Regions from separate parts of the Homo sapiens genome. Here regions 1, 3 and 4 are each linked to region 2. The links are contacts of gene promoters, found by promoter capture Hi-C in human tissues and cell types (Jung and others, 2019). All regions are on one chromosome and are shown on one strand. Each heading gives the region's core, a stretch centred on a gene start or on the middle of the fragment in contact. The rest is flanking DNA. Distances are from core to core; before and after follow the strand shown.

What was found. The method cuts DNA at HindIII sites, captures the fragments that hold promoters and counts their contacts. A contact is called where the count stands out against the background at its distance.
Region 1: a fragment that was not itself captured here is called in contact with the fragment with the promoter of DNAL1 in region 2 in 2 of the 25 tissues and cell types used here (hippocampus and psoas muscle).
Region 3: a contact is called between a fragment that was not itself captured here and the fragment with the promoter of DNAL1 in region 2, in 7 of the 25 tissues and cell types used here (H1 embryonic stem cells, dorsolateral prefrontal cortex, hippocampus and 4 more).
Region 4: a contact is called between a fragment that was not itself captured here and the fragment with the promoter of DNAL1 in region 2, in 1 of the 25 tissues and cell types used here (mesenchymal stem cells).

The regions. Positions count from the first base shown.
Region 1 is chr14:73,468,696-73,471,477 of GRCh38, reverse strand. No RefSeq gene overlaps it. Among named protein-coding and RNA genes, the nearest start is that of NUMB, 12 kb to the right of the region's middle. The HindIII fragment of the contact is 4,687 bases long and covers 1-2,782 here.
Region 2 is chr14:73,643,668-73,646,570 of GRCh38, reverse strand. DNAL1 (dynein axonemal light chain 1) reads right to left here and starts at 1,585. Exons shown (of 8, transcript NM_031427.4): 1 at 1,529-1,585. The coding sequence starts at 1,531. The HindIII fragment of the contact is 10,054 bases long and covers 1-2,832 here.
Region 3 is chr14:73,898,938-73,901,672 of GRCh38, reverse strand. All of the region lies in intron 5 of ZNF410 (zinc finger protein 410), which reads right to left. Among named protein-coding and RNA genes, the nearest start is that of ZNF410, 13 kb to the right of the region's middle. The HindIII fragment of the contact is 5,178 bases long and covers 1-2,735 here.
Region 4 is chr14:73,843,819-73,846,630 of GRCh38, reverse strand. No RefSeq gene overlaps it. Among named protein-coding and RNA genes, the nearest start is that of PTGR2, 6.6 kb to the left of the region's middle. The HindIII fragment of the contact is 3,095 bases long and covers 1-2,812 here.

The DNA of each region.
Region 1 (2,782 bases), core at 61-2,560, 170 kb after region 2:
GAGGTTACAGTGAGCCGAGATGGGGCCACTGCACTCCAGCGTGGGTGACAGAGCCAGACCCTGTCTCAAAATTAATTAATTAATTAAAATTTAAAAACACTGGGCCAGGCGCGGTGGCTCACGCCTGTAATCCTAGCACTTTGGGAGGCCGAGGCAGGTGGATTGCCTGAGATCAGAAGTTTGAGACCAGCCTGGGCAACATGGTGAAACCCCATCTCTACTAAAATACAAAAAATTAGCCGGGTGTGGTGGCAGATGCCTGTAGCCCCAGCTACTCGGGAGGCTGAGGCAAGAGAATTGCTTGAACCTGGGAGGCAGAAGTTGCAGTGAGCTGAGATCGCGCCACTGCACTCCAGCCTGTGACAGAGTGGGACTCTGTCTCCAAAAAAAAAAAAAAAAAATTTAAAACACTGAACACTTACTATGTGCAAGGTACTGTACCTGGTACTGGAAATTCAAAGATGAATATAGCATAGTTCTCATTCTCCAGATGTTCTTTTTTTTTTTTTCTTGAGACAGAGTTTCGATCTTGTTGCCCAGGCTGGAGTGCAATGGCGCAATCTTGGCTCACTGCAACCTCTGCCTCCTGGGTTCAAGCGATTCTCCTGCCTCAGCCTCCTGAGTAGCTAGGATTACAGGCATGCACCAGCACGCCCGGCTAATTTTGTATTTTTAGTAGAGACGGGGGTTTCCTCCATGTTGCTCAGGCCGGTCTTGAACTCCTGACCTCAGGATCTGCCTGCCTTGGCCTCCCAAAGTGCTGGGATTACTGGCGTGAGCCAACGTGCCCAGCCAGAAGTTCATTTTTAACCTTCACTTGTAGGTACATTTGAGAAGAAAAGGTAGGCACTTTTTTTATAGTTGTTCTTGGCCCCAGGGTAGCTCGGTCTTCGAAAGAACTTAAATGTTGTGTTCCTAAGAGGGTAGGATGACCCTTAGGTAGAGTTTTACACTGTATCCAGCCACTATGATAAAAGAATATTTTTGAGAGCTTATTAGGTAACTAAGAAGCTAGAGATCACATCTGGTCTGTTTTATCACTGCCTTATTTAATTATTTATATCCTCAGCAACAAACTATTGGCATTGGGTATGTAACTAATTTTTAATCAATAAATGTTTACTGAATAAACGAATTCCTAGTACTGTGTTAAACATTGTGCAAAAAGAGCCGTGACAGAAATATGTAAAGAAGCCTGCATCTGCCTAGGCGCGGCGGCTCATGCCTATAATCCCAGCAATATGGGAGCCTGAGGTGGGTGGATCACTTGAGGTCAGGAGTTCGAGACCAGCCTGGTCAATATGGGGAAACCCCATTTCTGCTAAAAGTACAAAAATTAGCTGGGCGTGGTGGTGCCTGCCTGTAATCTCAGCTACTCAGGAGGCTGAGGCAGGAAAATCGCTTGAACCCAGGAGGTGGAGACTGCAGTGAGCCGAGATCATGCCATTGCACTCCAGCCTGGGGAACAAAGAGAGATTCCATCTCAAAAAAAAAAAAAAAAGAGAAGAAAAGAAAAAAGAAGTCTGCATCTTATTCTTATAAGCAAATCTGAATATTTCCTTCCAAAAGTAGTACCTTGTTTTAAGTGCCTCCGCTGATTCATCCCTAAGGTGGGAAAGACTTAGAGATCTTGGAGAAGACTCTAAATGAGCCAGGGACCAGAGCATTATTATACTGCTTGATTTGATCTGTAGATTCAGGGTCTAATGACTGCTCTGGAGTTTGTTCTTATGTTGCAGGTATACAGCTGTATCTGTTTGAGTTGTCATTCATCAACCAAGCAGTTTGACAATTAGGACCGTAAGGATGACCAGGCTGGGTCAGACCTATCCAGCAGGTTAAAGGTTATTCAAGTTATTCAAGTAGTGGTCCTCAAACCTGGTTATAAATCAGAATCACCTGGGGGAGCTTTGCAACTATATACAGACCCCACTCCAACCTACTGAGTTGGAATACTAGGACCTAGGAGAGAGACATGAGACTTTCACATAGGACTAGGGTTGAAAATGAGTAGTTCAAGATCCATCCAGTTTTACTCATATATGGCTCTGCAATTCATAAATGTTGCCCTGATTTTTTTTCTGTATTCTGATTGTATTCCCTCCCTGGGTAATGAGTGCCATGCATTTACTACCTACAGTTTGGAGTAGTCTTCCTTTATATTGGTCCTAAGCTTAACTCTCCTGGAACTTTGTAAGAGACATTGAAACCTAAGATTTGGGGATTTGAGAGATGAGTTCATGTTGATCTTACGCATGCCACTTGTAATATTATAGGTTGAGCTCTCCCACAGAGCTTGCTTAGCAGTCACATGCCCATTCTTGAGATTTTTCTTATTTCACAAGGAGCTCTGGCTTTATCGAGATCCATTCTGCACCATCTAGACAACCTTTGTCCACTTCGTGCAATAGGAGAAAAATAATATCTGTTCCTCTGATGATTGTGACCCAGGATGATTGCAGCTTAGGTCATTCAGGACAGGTAAGCACTTATTGCCAGCTTAGATTAAAGTCCTGTTCTGAGTCTAGTTAGCCTGTTAGCTTTGGAGAGACCAGGAAGGGAAATATTCTTGCATTTAAGGGCTCAAACACAAATGTATTCATTTGGAATGATAATCTAGATGGTTCATAGAACAGAGACCAGAAGAGGGAGTCAAGTGGAAGTATTTGTGGTAAAGTATAGAAGGGAATAAATAGAGAAGGAAAATACTAGGGTCATGTGCCTATGTACCTGCCAAATAGAAAGAAAAAAGATCTGGTTTAAGCACATCACATTCCTTTAA
Region 2 (2,903 bases), core at 336-2,835:
AGGTGGATCTTGAACTCCTGACCTCAGGTGATCTGCCCGCCTCGGCCTCACAAAGTGCTGGGATTACAGGCCTCTGGGATTACAGGTGTGAGCCACCACACCCTGGCCGCTTTTCTATGTTTAAATACACAAATACCTTGTTTCAACTGCCTACAGTATTCAGTATAGTAAAATGCTGTAAAACTTTGTAGCCTAGGAGCAATAGCCTACACCATCTGGTTTTTGTAAGCATATTCTATGATGTTTGCAAGGCAAAACTGCCAATAATGTGTTTGTTAGAATGTATCCCTGTCATCATTAAGTGACTTATAACTGTACTGGTTCTGATTCTCTATTTGAAGATTTTCAACAATCACCATGGTTCATACTTTCATAAATATTTAGGTCTGAGCCTTTCTTCACCTGAATATAAACCTAGGTTCCAGAACTTTTAACTTTCCTTGGCAGTGATTTTCAGCTAACTGCTTGGGGAACAAAGTAAGGAAAGCAGGGGGGAAACTACTTTTTAAAGAGTGGTATTTCATCTTGTTGAGGGCAGGCATGACTTCCTCATCATTTCCATCTCCTGGGCTCAATTTCTGCCCACTTATATAGCACTGGAATCACAAAAAGAAGACAAGTAATTATGCTTCTTCTTCATAAACATCTCTATCCAGTAGGACATCACATACTTTGCTCAATAGCTCTGGCTGGGTCTGCAATCCTTTTCAAACGACTAGTTAGAACTACCAAGTATGTAAGCAAGAGAGTGAACACATCAAGTAAGAGTTGAGGAGCATCTCTAGGTAAAACCATTACTTCATAAAGAGCTCTCATTGGATAGACAGCTGGTAGATTTCAAACCTAAGGCAACAGCATTTCTCAGTGTGGTGGGATGCCCTCCAATTTTATAATCACTTGAGGTGTGTTGTCGAAATGCACATTCCTGAAACCCCCAATCATATTAAAAATTCACAATCTGCATTCCAACAAGCCCATACCTATGCATACTGAAATTTGAGAATCACTGCTCTAATATATCCATCAGAGTGTGCTTTACAGTGTCACCTAATAACTGCCCTCGTAGTCATTCAGAAGGCAACCTGGGTACATCACAGGTTACGAAAACTGCTGCAATCCGTGTTATACAGAACCCTCTGGTAACCAGCCCCTCCCTGCATCTCGACGGGGGGGTCACTAAAATTACTTCTATGTAAAGAGATATCTTTATCTACACTCTCCTTCCCATCACCCTTCCCACTCCAATACGCTCTTTTTAGAGAATTTCCTGCTCTTCGCCCTCCCTTTTCTCCTGTCTGAGTCCCTCCACCTTAACCCAACCTCCGATCCACCCCAGGCCGCCCTCACCACAGACCACCCCCGGCCAGGGCTTCTCTTTCGCCTCGGGCCCCTGACTCCACAGAGCTAGCGTCAGCTACCGGCTCCCTTCCGCTGTTCAAGGACCCCCAGACCCTCAACACTCCACAGTCACCCTTTTCCACTCCCAATCTTCTCTCAGCTTTGGCTACGCGGCCCGAAAGGTACTCACCATTCCGGCGGTTGCTACTGTCACTGCTCTGGTTGCTAGGGCCCGCGGGGTCAGTGCGCGTGCGCACTTCTCGGCGCTCTCGGCGGAAGCCCTATCCCCGGCAGCGGTCCTTTCTCTCCGCCCTCAGGGTGGTGCGAGCGGGGCATTGTGGGACTGCGTGGCGGCCGCCGGGGTCCTCCCGTCCGGCTGTTGCTGGCTGCCCTTTTGCTTCCTTAGGTCTTAACCCCGCACAGGAGTAGTCAGGACCGAAAGCAATTTCAGCTGATCTGTAGTGACTTGTCCGCCTAAAGTTAAAAACCTTAAAACGTCCCCCTAACAACTACCCTTTTCATAAAATAATGTTCTTAATTCCTTTGCCCTAACGATGGCGTTTCCCACCCTTTTCCGGACGAGGGGAGAATAAGCGGCTTGCTGTAATTTCCCTCTCCATCCCATCCCACTGAGAATACCAGAGCCAAACTCCACCCATTTTATGTTTCTTTACCCCGGATCCTCCAGGGAGCCAGAGGCAGCTGAAAGCTCGGTTCCACATTTTAAATATCACAAATTGTTGGTTTTAATCACCAGGGTGTCTTTTTTTCCCCACCTACCAAATGAGCTAAAAATTATTAACAATAATAATAATTCATAGAGTTGCTAGGGGTATGGTGAAGTAGGGACACACAAATACGCTGCTGTTTATAATTGATACAGCCTTTCTGGAAGGCTGTTGGCTGTTCAAAAACTTTTGCACCCTTTGTGATCCAGCAGTTCCACTTCCAGGACTTTATCCTGAGCACAGAGATGTATGTTCAAAGCTTTAATAGAAAAAAAAAAATCAACTCAATTATCAACAAAAGAGAATTGGTGGCCGGGACTGGTGGCTCACGCCTGTAATCCTAGCACTTTAGGAGGCTGAGGAGGGCGGACCACTTGACCACTTGAGCCCAGCCTGGCCAACATGGTGAAACCCCGTCTCTACTAAAAATACAAAAATTAGCCGGGTGTGGTGGCACGCGCCTGTAGTCCCAGCAATTCCGGAGCCTGAGGCACGAGAATTGCTTGAACCCGGGAGGCGGAGGTTGCAGTGAGCCGAGATCGCGCCATTGCACTCCAGTCTGGGCAACAAGAGTGACACTCCGTCTCAAAACAAACAAACAAACAAACAAAAAGAGAGAGAAAATTGGTTAGTAGTATTGAACATCCAATGCAATAATGTACTTACACTAAAAAAGTACAATTGACTTGCTGAAAGGCATCTATTCACATCCAAAGATAGTCATATTTCAAGTAAAAATAGAAGTTACCAAACAAAATAGTTGGTACGATTTTCCTTTAAAATTATACATAGTGGCCTGGTGCAGTTTGTTCATGCCTGTAATCCCAGAAATTTGGG
Region 3 (2,735 bases), core at 172-2,671, 260 kb before region 2:
AGGCATGAGCCACTGCACCGGCCAAAAAAATCATGCTAATACAGTGATTCAAATCAGTGATAGTAGGGGCTTTCTGGATTCCGTTTTATAGATACAATAAGAATATTAATATAATCATAAAATAGGAAAAATGAATACATAGAATAAGGCAAGGCTAAGAAATCACTGAAACTCCTCCTGCTCAAGAATGAAGATTATCAATATATGGTCAAATAAATATAACGCAAATTTTTCCCTAAAAAAAAAAAAAAATCCCTCAGAAAAGAGTGTATTTGAGTTCTATCATGTTGGCCAGGCTGGTCTTGAACTCCTGACCTCCAGTGATCTGCCCACCTTGGCCTCCCAAAGTGCTGGGATTATAGGTGTGAACCACTGCGCCCGGCTGCCGTATGGTTTCTGTTACAACTACTCAGCTTTGCCATAGTAGCAGCCTTAGACAATTTGTAAGTAATGTGGATGCCTATGTTCCCATAAAACTTTAATTATAAAAACAGGTGGGGATTTGGCCCAAAGGCCTTTGCTGATCTGATATACAACATCTTATGCAAAATTAAAACGTTTCTGTATTTCAAACAACTTAGACTGTAAGTGAAGATAACATGCTCTGAAAAACTATGCTAGAGGACTCATAAAGTGACTTCAGTGTCAACAATGACAAAAATATTTATGTTAAAAATGCATTAAAATATTGAATAAAATCACTTCATTACATGTTAGTGCAAGGGTGTCCAATCTTTTGGCTTCCCTGAGCCACACTGAAAGAAGAAATGTCTTGGACCACACATAAAATATACTAATACTAATGACAGCTGGTGAGCTTTAAAAGCAAACAAACAAAAAAATCTCATAATGTTTTAAGAAAGTTTACGAATTTGTGTTGGGCTGCATTCAAAGGTATCCTGGGCCACACGTGCCCACAGGCCGTATGTTGGACAAGCTTGTGTTAGTGGGTGAAAGCAATATTGATATATTTCATATGATTTAAAATGTATATGTGGGACCACGCACGGTGGCTCACGCATGTAATCCCAGCACTGCGGGAGGCAGAGGCAGGCAGATCACCTTGGGTCAGGAGTTTGAGACCAGCCATGGCCAACACGGTGAAACCCTGTGTCTACTAGAAATACAAAAATTAGCTGGGCATGGTGGCATGCACATGTAGTCCCAGCTACTCGGGAGGCTGAGGCAGAGAATCACTTGAGCCCAGGAGGCAGAGTTTGCAGTGAGCCGAGATTGCGCCGCTGCACTCCAGCCTGGGCGACAGACTGAGACTCGGTCTCAAAAAAAAAAAAAAAATTAAAATGTGTATGTATAACCAAAATCATAAAGCTTCCAAATAGCAACCTATAATGTTAATTTTATCTACATGCTTAAAAGTTTACATAACTAAGTTAGAAAAAAATAAAAGGCTTTTAGGGTATTATCTTGTTGGAAAATAAAAGATTGTCTTATATTTGGGGTGATTTTTTTTTTTTTTGGGAGACCAAGTTTCGCTCTTGTTGCCCAGGCTGGAGTGCAGTGGTGCGATCTCCACTCACTGCAACCTCCACCTCCCGGGTTCAAGCAGTTCTGTCTCAGCCTTCCTGAGTAGCTGGGATTACATGCATGCGCCACCACGCCCAGCTAATTTTGTATTTTTAGTAGAGACGGGATTTCTCCACGTTGGTCAGGCTGGTCTCGAATTCCTGACCTCAGATGATCTGCCTGCCTCGGCCTCCCAAAGTGCAGGGATTACAGGCATGAGCCACAATGCCCAGCCTATTTGGGGTGATTTTATATTCAGGCATACAAAGTAGTTGTTAAGATAGTAAGGCAACATACTTTGAGAGTAAGAAAAACATCCACACAATGCTTTGCTGATTATAACATTTCCCAGATAGAATGTTACATAATCTCCATAACAAGCCAGTCAGGAAAGCTGCCTGATCTCTATGTTCAGATCGTAAGAAAATTGAAGCTAAGGGAGGTTAAACTGCCCAAGGCAGGGAACCAGTAAATGATGGTGCCAGGCCTGGATCCCAGGGCTCCCAGATTCTAAATTGCAAGCTCCCCTCCCTACGCTGCTTCTCATTGGCAAATATGACACTATTTCTTCAATGTAAGAGGAAATGCTGAAGGTTTCAGCATCTGGAGATTGGCACATATATCTCAGGAAGAATCTGAACTTTAAGGGTCCCACCAAAATGTTAAAATGAACCATTCTAAGTAGCACTATGGTAGTCATAAACAGAACTAAGTATTTTGAAAACAAACAGTTTAGAGTTTGGCTGGGGATGGTTGCTCACACCTAAAATCCCAGCACTTAGGGAGCCAGAGGCAGGAGGAGACCCTGAGTCCAGGAGTTTGAGACCTGTCTGGCAACAGAGCAAAACCTCATTCTCCATAAAAAGGGAAAAAAAAAGACCAAAAAAAAAAAAGATTTAATGTTTCAAAATATTCATAGGGAACTCTAGTTCTCTATGAGAAATTTTAACTTTTTATTTTCATTTGAATGGTAATCAAAAAATAATAATAAGCATATACTAGATAATCTGCATAAACTCCAAACAACTGTGTACTAAGTGCTTAAGCTTAGTTTGTGATAATGATAGCATTAAACCATGTTGTATTGAGTTGTGTCACATGTTAATGAGAAAACACAGAGGCAGACCTAAAAAAGTATCCATGACATGCTACATAAGCAAAGATTCTGCAGTGGTCTGAATAGAGCCGTGGTTCTCAAGCTTTAACATGTA
Region 4 (2,812 bases), core at 35-2,534, 200 kb before region 2:
CAGTGAAACCCCGTCTCTACTAAAAATACAAAAATTAGCTGGGTGTGGTGCCGGGCGCCTGTAATCCCAGCTACTCAGGAGGCTGAGGAAGGAGAATCACTTGAACCCAGGAGTCAGAGGTTGCAGTGAGCCAAGATTGTGCCACTGCACTCCAGCCTGGGTGACAGAGCTAGACTCCATCTCAAAAAACAAACAAACAAACAAACAAAAACTATGAACTTTTATTGTATTATCTCAGAGTTTTGAAGGATCAGGAAGCCATGCACAGTTTAGCTGGGTGATTCTGGCTCAAGGTCTCTGTAATCAAGCTGCCAGTCTGGGCTGGGCTGTGGTCTCATAAGAAGACTCAGCTGGGGAAGAATCCACTTCCAAGCTTGCTTTCTTTTCTTTCTTTTTTTTTTTTTTTTTTTTTTTGAGACAGTCTTGTTCTGTTGCCCAGGCTGGAGTGCAGTGGCACAGTCTCAGCTCACTCAAGCTATTCTCATGCCTCGGCCTCCCAAGTAGCTGGAATTACAGGCACATGCTACCATGCCTGGCTAATTTTCTTATTTTTAGTGGAGACAGGGTTTCGCCATGTTGGCCAGGCTGGTCTCAAACTCCTGGTCTCAAGTTACCTGCCCACCTTGGCCTCCCAAAGTGCTGGGATTATGCATGAGCCACCGCGCCTGGCATAGGATGTATTCTTAAATCGTATAAATATTGTATTTAAAAAACTGTAGTAATCAAGGCATTGTGCTGTTGATGCAAGGATAAATAGATCAATGGAAGAGAAGAGTCTTGAAATAAACCCTTCCTACATTATAGTTAATTGATTTTTTACAAAGGGGTCAAGACAACTCAGTAGCAAAATGATAATCTCAATAAATGATGCCGGCGCAATTGGATATCCATACACCAAAAAACAAAAGCAAAGCCCTGGAAAACAAAAACAACAAAAAGAAACTTGAATCTTTGCTCACACCAAATACAAAAATTAATTCAAAATGGATTATAAACCAAAACCTAAGAGGTAAAAATATAAAACTCAAAAAAAGACACCAAAAGCAGAAACCATAGAAGAAAATGTGATAAATTAGAATTTATCAAAATTTAAAATATAAAGTACCTTAAGAAAATGAAAGGGCCATGGGTGGTGGCTCACACCTGTAATCCCAACACTGGGAGGTCAAGGCGGGCAGATTGCTTGAGTTTAGGATTTCTGTACCAGCCTGGGCAACATAGGGAGACCTTGTCTCTACTGAAATTCAAGAAATAATTATTAATAGCTGGGTGTGGTGGTACAGGCCTGTAGTCCCAACTTACTCAGCAGGCTATGGTGGAAGGATCACTTGAGCCTGGGAGGTTGAGGCTGCAGTGAGCCTTGATCATACCACTACCCTCCAGCCCGGGCAACAGACTGTGACTCTCTCTCAAAACCAAAAAAAAAAAATGAAAATGAAAAGATAAGCCACAGACTGGAAGAAAATATTTGCAAATCATACATCTGATAAAAGGCTTATATTGAAAACACATAAAGAACTCATAACTCAATAGTATGAAGATAATTATGAGATATGGCTGCTGAATGTCTGAATAAGAAAACAAAAAAACAAGGATATATGAAGACAATCAACCGAATTAAAAAATGGTCCCAGGAGAGGCGGAGCTTGCAGTGCGCCGAGATCGTGCCACTGCACTCCAGCCTTGGCGACAGAGCAAGATTCCATCTCAAAAAAAAAAAAAAAAATGGTCCCAGGGGCTGGGTGCGGTGGCTCACACCTGTAATCCCAGCACTTTGGGAGGCTGAGGCAGGTGGATCACTTGAGGTAAGGAGTTCCAGACCAGCCTGGCCAACATGGTAAAACCCCCTCTCTACTACAGAAAAATACGAAAATTAGCTGGGCGTGGTGGTGCACACCTGCAGTCATAGCTACTGGGGAGGCTGAGCTAGGAGAATCACTTGAGCCCAGGAGGCAGAGGTTGCAGTGACCCAAGATCAGGCCACTGCCACTCCAGCCTGGGTGACAGAGTAAGACTCCATCTCAAAAAAAAATTTTTTTTAATGGTCCCAGTCCAGTGCGGTGTCTCACGCCTATAATCCTAGCACTTTGGGAGGTCAAGGTGGGAGGATCACTTGAGGTGAGGAGTTCAAGACCAGCCTGGGCAACATAAGATTCCTCTCTCTACAAAAAATGTTAAAAATTGGCCAGATGTGGTGGCACGTGATTGTAGTCCCAGCTACTGGGGAGGCTGAGACAGGAAGATCACTTGAGTCCAGGAGGTGGAGACTGCAGTGAGTGAGCTATAATTGTACCACTGCACTCCAGCCTGGGCAACAGAGGGAGACTCTGTCTCTCTAAAAATAAGTAAATAACTAAAGTAAATCTTAATGTAATTATGTAACTTTTGGACTTCAGTTAACAATAATGTGTCAATATTGGCTCATAAACTTTTTTTTTTTTTTTTTTTGAGATGGAGTCTCGCTCTGTCACCCAGGCTGGAGTGCAGTGGCGTGATCTTGGCTCACTGCAACCTCCGTCTCCTAGGCTCAAGTGATTCTCCTGCCTCAGCCTCCTGAGTAGCTGGGATTACAGGCATATGCCACCACGCCCAGCTAATGTTTATATTTTTAGTAGAGACGGAGTTTATCTCAGTAAGACTTTCAAGCTCTGTGGTCACCGTTTGAAAAGCATTAGATACGCTGGGTGCAGTGGCTCACACCTGTAATCCTAGCACTTTGGGAGGCCGAGGTGGGAGTTTCATTTGAGCTCAGGAGTTTGAGACCAGCCTGGGCAACATAGTGAGACCTTGTCTATACAAAAAATGAACAAAA